Linked DNA regions of Homo sapiens: regions 2 and 3 are each linked to region 1. Evidence: promoter capture Hi-C in 16 types of primary human blood cells and fetal thymus (Javierre and others, 2016). All regions are on one chromosome and are shown on one strand. The core of a region is centred on a gene start or on the middle of the fragment in contact, and the rest is flanking DNA. Distances in the headings are between cores, read along the strand shown.

Evidence for each region. Contacts are between HindIII fragments. The CHiCAGO score rates a contact against its expected background, and 5 or more counts as called.
Region 2: a contact is called between a fragment that was not itself captured here and the fragment with the promoter of MAP1B in region 1, in 1 of 17 cell types (endothelial precursors). The highest score is 5.5, in endothelial precursors.
Region 3: a fragment that was not itself captured here is called in contact with the fragment with the promoter of MAP1B in region 1 in 1 of 17 cell types (total CD8 T cells); the score reaches 5.1 in total CD8 T cells.

The regions. Positions count from the first base shown.
Region 1 is chr5:72,105,828-72,109,191 of GRCh38, forward strand. MAP1B (microtubule associated protein 1B) reads left to right here and starts at 1,648. Exons shown (of 7, transcript NM_005909.5): 1 at 1,648-1,888. The coding sequence starts at 1,705. It overlaps LOC105379028 (a long non-coding RNA gene), which reads right to left. Exons shown (of 3, transcript XR_007058813.1): 1 at 2,948-3,364; 2 at 2,098-2,160. RefSeq lists enhancers at 1,567-2,549, 2,955-3,249. The HindIII fragment of the contact is 9,795 bases long and covers 1-3,364 here.
Region 2 is chr5:72,306,780-72,310,143 of GRCh38, forward strand. All of the region lies in intron 2 of MRPS27 (mitochondrial ribosomal protein S27), which reads right to left. Among named protein-coding and RNA genes, the nearest start is that of MRPS27, 12 kb to the right of the region's middle. RefSeq lists an enhancer at 1,333-1,582 and a silencer at 1,633-1,922. The HindIII fragment of the contact is 838 bases long and covers 1,179-2,016 here.
Region 3 is chr5:72,290,624-72,293,987 of GRCh38, forward strand. All of the region lies in intron 4 of MRPS27 (mitochondrial ribosomal protein S27), which reads right to left. LOC107986422 (a long non-coding RNA gene) reads right to left here. Exons shown (of 2, transcript XR_001742742.2): 1 at 327-3,364. Among named protein-coding and RNA genes, the nearest start is that of MRPS27, 28 kb to the right of the region's middle. The HindIII fragment of the contact is 4,217 bases long and covers 1-3,364 here.

The sequences.
Region 1 (3,364 bases), core at 398-2,897:
CTAATTACTGGTGAATGCAACTCTCTAGTGATCCTGTCACAGATCCCAAATACTGCGGGCCAGACGGTATTTTCATTCTGCATTGATCAGATTGACATGTTGGATGGAACCCCCCAGCCCTTGGCTGCCCAGCATGTCTCCCATGCCAGGGTGTCAGGAAAGATATAAGAGCAAAGAGTACATGACCAATAAGTCATGGCAGCTAACACCTAAGACACTGGGTTATTTTGGAAATCTTAAGAATATCTAGGTGATTATCTATCTATCTATCTATCTATCTATCTATCTATCTATCTATCATCTATATTTTACTAACAGGCATTCTAGTATTAAAGCTATGTTGACTAATTTCCATCTATTCCTCTTCCTTAAAGCTCGAATTCCCCAGTCTTCTATGATACCATGTTTGCACATTTTGCTCTTTCCTCACCCTCCTCCCCTTTTCTGGGACAGAAGCTATATTCAGTATGTTTGTGAGAAACGGTTGTAAATAGGCTGCCTTAAAAAAAAAAACAAAAAAACAAAAACAAAAAACACATTTTTTAGTTCTTCTAAACACAAACAAAGGCAATAAAAATTCCCAATGCTACAGGTATTTTAAAAGACATCATTGTCACGAGGTAATTTTGCTTGTGTGTTCCCCAAGGAACTGAAAAGTACATTATAGTCACTGTAACCCTGCTGAGTAGAGACAGTATCTTCTCTTTATTCTTTGTTATTACTGATACTATCTGTTCAGCACATTAAGGAAAGAAATTGGTATCTAATATAATACATCTGCATTTCTCTCATTTCCCATGAGCACCACAAAGCCAGTACTTTTTCATCCTTGGCCCTGCCAGAGTAGAATCCAAGGCCTGAACAATAGTAGGCTTAAGTTTTGCATTTTTGATGTATTCTTTAAGTGAAGGTGGTAAATATTGATATTGGTAAATATCAGTAAATTCGTCTTCTTAAAGCCACAAGGTCAAAGAAAAGACAGGTTCCGTCTTCCTAGGCGGGGTACCCACAGCCCCGCATCTGCCCACTGTGGCTATCCCAGTTCCTGAGAACCTGGCTACATCATACACAGCACACAAGGCAGAGGCCTGACTAGTGCAACTCCAACAAGAGAAAAGACCCCCACTCCGAAAATGGAAACTCATCCCATTCCCATGCACAGACAGGGTGAGGGTGAGGAGTGGGCAGTGGGTGTGTACGTGGTGGGTGGTGTAGGTTGAGAGCGTCTTCCCCCTTCACGGCTGCAGCAGGAGCTCAGCGGGCGCCCCAGCCCCTTGGCTCGCGGCCCTGCCCCGACCATTGTCCGCACACCTCGTCCCTCCAGCTTCCGGGCCGCGGGCGAGATGATTTGCTGCAGATGACATCAGCCCCGGGCCAACGGCTGGAAGAGCGGAGGCAGCCACCGCGTGAGGATGTGCCGGGTGGTCCTTTCCTCCTCCTCTTCCTCCTCCTCCCGGCTCCCTGCCTAGTCTCCATATAAAAGCGGCGCCGCCTCCCCGCCCTCTCTCACTCCCCGCTCCTCTCCGCCGCGCACTCTCCGCGGCGCTGGGAGAGGGCGGAGGGGGAGGCGGCGCGCGGCGCCAGAGGAGGGGGGACGCAGGGGGCGGAGCGGAGACAGTACCTTCGGAGATAATCCTTTCTCCTGCCGCAGTGGAGAGGAGCGGCCGGAGCGAGACACTTCGCCGAGGCACAGCAGCCGGCAGGATGGCGACCGTGGTGGTGGAAGCCACCGAGCCGGAGCCGTCCGGCAGCATCGCCAACCCGGCGGCGTCCACCTCGCCTAGCCTGTCGCACCGCTTCCTTGACAGCAAGTTCTACTTGCTGGTGGTCGTCGGCGAGATCGTGACCGAGGAGCACCTGCGGCGTGCCATCGGCAACATCGAGCTCGGTAAGTGGCCCCGCGCCCCCAGAGACGCGCGCTGGGAGACGCGCAAACACGACCCCACCCAGGGCGCGACGGTCACTGCGCTCCTCCCGCGCGCCCCGCACCCATGCCTCTCCTCGTCACCTCTCATACTTGGTCCAGACCCTTTCTGGGCTAATTAAGAATAATCCGAATTATTAGATATGAGACCCAGAGGGAGAGTCTCCAATAACCTTGAGGGATCTGTCACCACGCTGAGTCCGCAGCCTGTGCTGAGTTGGCCACCGCCTCTCCCGCTAAGTGAAATGCAGGTGTCAGGGGAGCAGAGGCCACAATAAAGCCGCAACCGCAGGAGGCAGAAGGGTGGGGGAGACCTGATGCAACCACTCCTTTCAGTCCTCTTCTGGCCTCAGGAAAAGGCTGGGACCCCCACCACCGCAGACCTGGGGCCGAAGCCCATGTGCCAGGGCCCGCGTGGGATTCATCCTCACCACGGCTACCTCAGCCCCTGAGAAACGCCTTTTCTGATTTCAAACCTCCCGATCCTTTCTTTCCTCAGAATGACTAGGCTAGTCCTAGGGCCACGCCCGCTCCCCCCGCCCCCCCCTCCCCGGGGAGATGCTGGGATGCAGAACCGCCTGCGCTTCGCCACCAGACAGAGCCCGCCTCGCTACCGCCCTTGGGGCCTTGGCTGCAGCTCTCAGAAAGGACAATGGGACCCCAAGTTGCGGGGTGGGGCTGCTGCTTTTAGAAGTCCCAGCCTCGGGAGTGGTAGCTTGAAGGGGGTCGGTGAGGGAGACGTCAGCGGGTAGGGTCAGCTCCTCGCCCGGTGCTCGCACCAGTGGCGCGCTCTGCGGAGGCCGAATAGCGGTACGCCGGGGACCCTGGGCGGGGCCGTGAGGGTCCGGCGGGCACAGCCTCGGGCGCACAGAGAGACCGCCCCCAGCCCCACCCGAGCTGCCGCAGTGCCTCCGGACCGCCCGCCACACCTGCCCCCCCACACTGCGGCGCCCCCGTCGGGCACGGCTGGCTGGGCTTGCGCTCCGCCCGGGCCTCGGGCTGGCGGGGGCCGCGCGCCCCCACCTCTCAGTTTGCCTGGCTTTGTTGCCCTGGGAGTCCCTGGGTGGGCAGCTCTGGTCTCTGCCTTTCCCTTTATCCCTGGCGTCCCGGCCCTCCCCTCGCTCCTGACAGAGGTCGCCGGGTCCCTCCGCAGCCCCAGCCCGCGCTCTATTCTCCTGGGGTGGTGCTGAAGCGTTTCTCCGGGAGACACCGGTTGGTGGGCGTGGTGCAGTCCGCACTGCGGTCTCTACGGCAGCCCGAGGCGGACAAAGGGCGTTCACGCAGCCCTCGTTCCCCACTCCCCCTCCCCAATAAAAGACGAAAGAAAAACCTTGTTTTAGATGAAAAAATAAATGCTTGTCATCTGCCTCTGCAGTTGGAAACGGCCACTTGTCCCCAGAACAAAAGGCTGCAGGGTGGGGACTGGAGTTGCAGACCTGG
Region 2 (3,364 bases), core at 348-2,847, 200 kb after region 1:
ATATCAAAGTACATATAAAAAAACCCCGATAATTAAGTTTGTTAAAAAGTAATCTGGTGAACAGGTGGGGAGTTGATGAAACAACACTGGTAGGGAATTGATAATTGCTGGAGCTGGGTGACAGTACACAGGGGTTTATTCTACTCTCTCTACTTCTGTATGTTTCTATTAAAAAGATTCAGAAAGAGTTAACGGGGGCACATAGCAACCAATTGTATTATACGAGGCTTTATTTGAATCCTGATTCAACCAAATCATAAAAAAAAAAATTTGAGAGTATCAGGGATACCTGAGCCAGGAGCGGTGGCTCACGCCTGTAATCCCAGCACTTGGGGAGGCCGAGGTGGGCGGATCACGAGGTCACGAGTTCGAGACCAGCATGACCAAAAAGGCAAGACCCCATCTCTGCTAAAAATACAAAAATTAGCCGGGCATGGTGGCGGGCGCCTGTAATCCCAGCTTCTCGGGAGGCTGAGGCAGGAGAATCGCTTGAACCTGGGAGGAGGAGGTTTAAGCGAGCTGAGATCGTGCCATTGCACTCCAACCTGGGCGACAAGAGCAAGGCTCTAAGAAAATAAAATAAAATAAGAAAGAGAGTATCAGGGATATCTGAACACTAACTGGATATTTCGTGATATTTACAACCCTATTAATATTTTAGGTGTGATAATGGTATTGAAAAGCACCCTTGTCTTTTGGAGATCTGTATCAAAATATTTACGGATGAAATGACTTACTGCCTGGGATCTCCTTCAAAATTATCCAAAGCATCGGGATGGGGAAACAGTAATAAAGATAAAATAAAGACTAAGAGCTGATAATTGTTGAAGCCAGGTGATGGGTAAAGGGGGCTCCTTATACCAAGGTGTCTACACCTTCAAATGTTAAAACACTAAAAAAAAAAAATCTGTGGCGTTAGAAGTCAGGATACCGGTTACCTTTGGAGAGACTAAGTGGGGGCCGCAATAAGGGCTTCTGGAGCGGTAGGAATGCTCTTGCTTCCTACACAGGTTTACTCGCTTTGTGGTAATTCATCAATGTCTATATTACGACTTGCACACTTTTCAGTATGTATATTATACTCCAATAAAAAAGTATTTTAAAGAAGAAATCGACTACTTTAATGTAGGCGGAAGATCCTATGGTAGAATCTCAGGTACTACAGCAATCACTGAGAAAGCTTTTTGGGCGGAAAGGAAAGTGAGGCTCTCGCCCGGTTTCCTCCTCTCCACGGTGGAACTGGCAGCGGCCCTGGCTGGCTGCTGAGAGCGCGGAACGGGGCGGCGTTCTGACGTTCGCGCCGGGGCCCTCTGGACGCACCGCGGGCGCAGGTCCTAGACAGCTGCATTGGCGTCCACCGCGGCCCCGGCGCTGGGAAACTGCCCTCACGCTAGGGCCCTCCCCGAGGAGCTCTCTGGCACAATCAGCCACGAGGACGAAGAGAGGGGGCACCGGAACCGCAAGCCCACTCCGAGAGGCCAGAACCTCTCTCTCGCCGTACTCCCCGGCAGGGCACGGCTCAGGGGAGACGGCGCTCTGGCACATGAAGCCCACACCCACACGCCGCAGTGTCCCTTGCTGCCTCGATCTCCAATGGGGATGGGAGCGGCGAAAGCCTCATATCGGCCCTCCTCCGTCCCCCAATCAGCGAGCCCGCTTTGAGCACCTCACGGCCCTCCGGCTGGCGGCGCCCAATCACAGCGCTCCACATGCTGGGCGCGGCCCTGCGCGCGCACGCTACCCGACAGCCCCGCGCCCACTCGCCGCGTTCCACCCGCGGGGCGGCGGATTCCCGCAGGGGCCACACTGCCACCTACTGTCCCATCTCCAGAGCTGGAGCCACGGGCGCTCTCCCTACCATGCGGCCTCCCTGCTAAGTGCCAGTAGCTCAACCCAAACGCTCAAATAAAAATGAGGGAAAACAAGTAGTGTCGTCGAGTAAAACCGAAAACAATGTCCATTTTGAAAAAAGCGGCAATAATTACCTTCCAGTACACAGTAGGAAAAAGTCTCAAAAGCTTTCTTTGTTCCAAGCAGTGTGAGTTCCAAAACATTATTTCACCTCACACGTTTTATAGAGGGCTAAAAACAAGGGGCTTAGGGACTCCTCAGTGCACATATTTCTGAAGCACCTGCATGTCAGACGGAGAGGCAGGCATTACCATCATCTCTAATTTATAGGCACAGAAACCGAGTGTGACAGCTGAAAGCCGCAGAACTGGGACTGACACCCAGAAGTCGGCCTCCCAAGTGCAGACTTCAGCACATCATACACAAGGAAGGCACAAAGTGCTGAAAGAATATAGGGCAGGAAACATCGATTCTGACTGGAGAGATTCAGGATATACAAAGATATTCTAGGCAGAGGGGACAGCTGTCTCGGTGGCAGGAAAAATTCAGTAAATGGTGGCTAGTACTGCTTTTCCAAGAAAACTAGTCTTAACTGAGGAAAGGGAACAAATGTCTCTATGTGATATTTACTCATTGCAGACTTTTTTTTTTTTGAGACAGAGTCAGCTCTGTCGCCCAGGCTGTAGTGCAGCGGCGTGATCTCTGGCTCACTGCAACCTCTGCCTCCCGGGTTCGAGCGATTCTCCTGCTTCAGCCTCCATTGTAGCTGGGATTACAGGTGTGCGCCACCACGCCCGGCTATTTTGTAATTTTAGTAGAGGCGGGGTTTCACCATGTTGTCCAGGCTGGTCTTGAACTCCTGACTTGATCTGCCTACCTCAGCCTCCCAAAGTGCTGGGATTATAGGCGTGTGCCACTGCGTGCTGCCCCGCTGCAGATTATTATACTCATTATTTGGCAAACAGTTACTGCTTACTCAGGTATCCATGACAATGTTCCCTGGATTTGTGTGACTGACTATACCCAACACCAAGACACCAAACCTAGTGGCCTCATTTCCTAATCTTCCCTACATACCTAGGAAAGTGTTAATAAGCTTTCCTGGAATTCGTCATTCCCTTATCTGTACTTCACTGCACTTTGCTTATAATTCACATATGGCACATCCGAACACGCCTTGCTGTATAACTATGAGTCCATACTGGTCTGATCACTAGAACAGTATAGTATTGGCCCTACAGAGCATTTTAGGATATGTGGAAGTTGGTCTTGATTGTCACAATGACTGAAAGGCATTACTGGCACTTAATGGACAGAAAACAGGGAATTCAGATGACCTGCAATGCTGAGACTGTCCCGTACATCAAAACACTGTCTCTAGTGGGAGCCAGGGCTGTCAGTATGGAAGACGGGAGATACAAATATGGACTGGAGCAAGGCAAGAAGAATCCCATAGGGATGAACTTGGGATTGGTGTGAACTCATTATCTGCAAAATATATATAGTATATGTA
Region 3 (3,364 bases), core at 282-2,781, 180 kb after region 1:
ATCTAATTCTTAGGAATGCTCTAAGTTTATAGTAAAGCAAAGGTAGGAACCCTTTTCTCTTCCAAATATTAACAAGAGGGCGTGTGGATAGGAAGTAGAAATTAATCCTTTGCCCAGAAAAAGAAAGTATTTTGCCTAACTGTTTTTAAAATTAACATGGGATATAAAAATTCTTTTAAACAAATATAAAAAATAAATGCAGTCTTTTTATGCCCACTGAACAGACATTTCCTGTCAGCAGCTGTTAGCTGAGCTGTTCTGTTACCTCTCTTTTCTGCGTCACAGAACCTTTGCTGCTACCACTGGGAAAGAGCATGACTTCTTACCTCACCAAGGACTGGGTGATGGTGATATCAAAATAAAGCGGAAATGCTCCTGTCTAGCACCCTGCCAGCGCTGGTCTCCTGACAGGTAGCATCTCAGGGCCTGTCCAAATCTTCTCACTCCTCACCACACCTTTTTTCCGGTGCTGTAGGGAAACTTGGGAGACTGGCTGTATCTAAATTTTCATTGTGAAGACAGAAAACCCATCAATTATATGCTTGTCTTACTTGGTAAGGTCTAAACTAAGAAAGTCTTCTTTGTAAGAAGAGAAAACAAAGACCCAGAGTATTTAAAACCCAAAAAACCTAAGGGAAGAAATAAAAATAAGTCTAAGCAAAAGAACCTATTTTTCAAACAAGATCTCACAGCAGGGTTCCTAACAATTTTTTGTCTTGAACCCTCTGGCAGTCTGATGAAGGCTTCTCAGAATTAGTTTCTTACAACAGAAACCAATTATATTGAAATACAATTATCAAGATATTAAGAAATCTTTGGGATATGGTAACATATGTGCTGCTTTATTAATGCATGAAATAACACTAGCTAGCGGTAGGTTTAATTACTAACATAATTTCTAAGCAGTGATATCTGTAACAAATGTAATGTGATATGAAAAAATCAATGATTTTTATTGGCAAGAAAGACACAGATGCTGTTAATATTATAGTCATCTGCTGCCTACATTCATAAATGAAAGAAATGCTAAATATTATTGAGGTTAGTGAAAATAAAAATATAATTTTATTCTTATGCAAGTTCACAGTCCTCTCTGAATTTTCTCTGTAGACACCGATAAGGCAGCTGGAGGCACAGTTTCTCTGGCAGAAACAGAAGCAAAAGCAAATGGCCTGTGGCAGCATGGTCTGGCCTATCTCCAGACCTATTCTTCCCCCAAGCCACGCCCTAGAGGGCCTATAAGAAACTAGCTCCAGGGCTTCTCAGAAGACAGCTTGAAAACCACTCATAAAGAGGTTTACCATTTAGCCTGCTAGTAATATCTGTGCAAGAGCACACCTATGCCTATTTTCCCAACCTCCCGGCTTAAACTATACATATCGTATAAAGTCCCTGGCTCAAATCCTTATTTCATTTTACTGTATTTATTTTTTATTATCTTATTTAAGTTTTCTTTATTTGTCACAGCCCAACAGTATGCCTTGTTTCCTTATTTTGTTTATTTTACTTTGTTTTAACTTTGTTGCTATTTTAATCACTTTTACTCTTGGTTTATTTTCCTTTTATATGGGTATTACCAGTTTTTTTTTTTTTTTTTTTTTGGCCAATGAATATAGTTGCTGGTATTGCCTTAATCATTTTTAGTTCACATTATTCTTTGGTTAGAGCTTCACCCTTTCCTTGGTGTTTTCATTTTTTATTTATAAATAGAAGGCAAAAGTTGATCATAGGATTGCCAGCTCCCAGAGAATAGACCACGGCCCAAATAAAAGTACTTAGAAATTTGTTCTCCTGCCTGCTGTCTGAATAGCAGCCTTTCTATCTCTCCTTAAAAGATCCCTTTAATGTTGAAGTCCCTAAACATTTAAGCCTATGTACTTTCAGAGATTCAAAACTTGAAATCTTCTGCTGGGATGATAGGGTGATAATAAGCTGGCAGGTACCAGCAGCACCCTGAGCTGCTGGAACTTGGAACTGTTTACTTGTGTGCCTGATGCAATGGCAGAAGCTCAATCAGCTCTTCACTGATCATTCAAGGTTTCTAAACTTCTTTGGCTCTAGACTTTACATAATAATTGCGGAAATTTGATCACTAGAAGAGGAGAAGATGTGGCAGCTACACTCCTGCTAGCAGAGCCTGGTGTTCACAGGTTATGTCAGAGAAAGAGGTGAACCAATGCCAAAGTTCTCCTGTGGGCTTGTCTGTTAAAGACGGTACTGCTTAAGGACTGAGAAATCCTAACCCCAGGCCTGCAAGCTGTGAGTTGTATAAAATTAAGAAGTTCCTTTTTCATTTCCTCACCTTAGACCTGGAATTGTAAGTTTGCTCCGAGATGTCTAAAGTCATCCCATGAGGAGATGTTAGGCATCATAATGATTGAAGGCCTAACTGGTAGAAATATTACACAGCAGTAAGTCCTTGGTGTCTTCAGGATTAACATCCCTGATTTTGATTACTTGAGATAAACCCCAAGAGTTTATAACTTGTAATTTTTAATTTTGCTAAGGCATAAGTATGTTCTGTATATTCTCTAAGGGTGGAAAGCAAGAGTGAGGCACTTAGCTAACGAGAGAACCCAGCCAATCTCCACTGTTCCGACGCAGCTTTGTAGAGTTCTACCTAGTCTCATATATATACAAGCACATGAAGTCATAAAAACATTTCTGTCTTAAAAAAAAAAAAAGCTGATAAAAAGAGAGTCAATTTTCTTGGTAATGGAAGGGAGGAGAAAGAACTAAGATAAACGATAAATCATAGCTAAAGAACTAGTTTTGATTAAAGCAAAAAATGGGATGTCCAATTAAACAGTGGCTCAGATTTATGATGGACAAGAGTCTTTTATTTGATCTATATGGAAATAGGACGTAGTGATCTTATGAAACTTTCAGTTATACCCCAGGCCACACAAAACTGAACATCATGTGAAGAATTAATCATAGAAGGTCTTAAAAACAGAATTTCAACTTTTCAGTAATACTTGGAGAATGTCTAACTTATTCAACATTAGATATCCAGCACCCAGGAAAGGGCCTGCGCACATAATAGGTGCTCGGTAAATACTTGTTGAAATGCTGAGTCACTGAAATCAATTTGATGCTACAGAAGTACTTCTGAATTTGGAACATACTTCTCCCAACACTATGGCACTGTATCTCACAGGATGAAATTCTAAAAAACAGTTTATATTTAGAAATTGAAACTATGTTCTGCATTTTGCTATAAATAAAAATATGAGAACTGGCCAGATGCCAGCCCAAATACACCCTTCATCACAGACAAAAAGTAACTACCAAAGCAGCCCTACAGTCCCAAAGAGCCACTAAAGGAAGGCAGGGCCACCTCTCATCAAGGGGTTCGTTTATC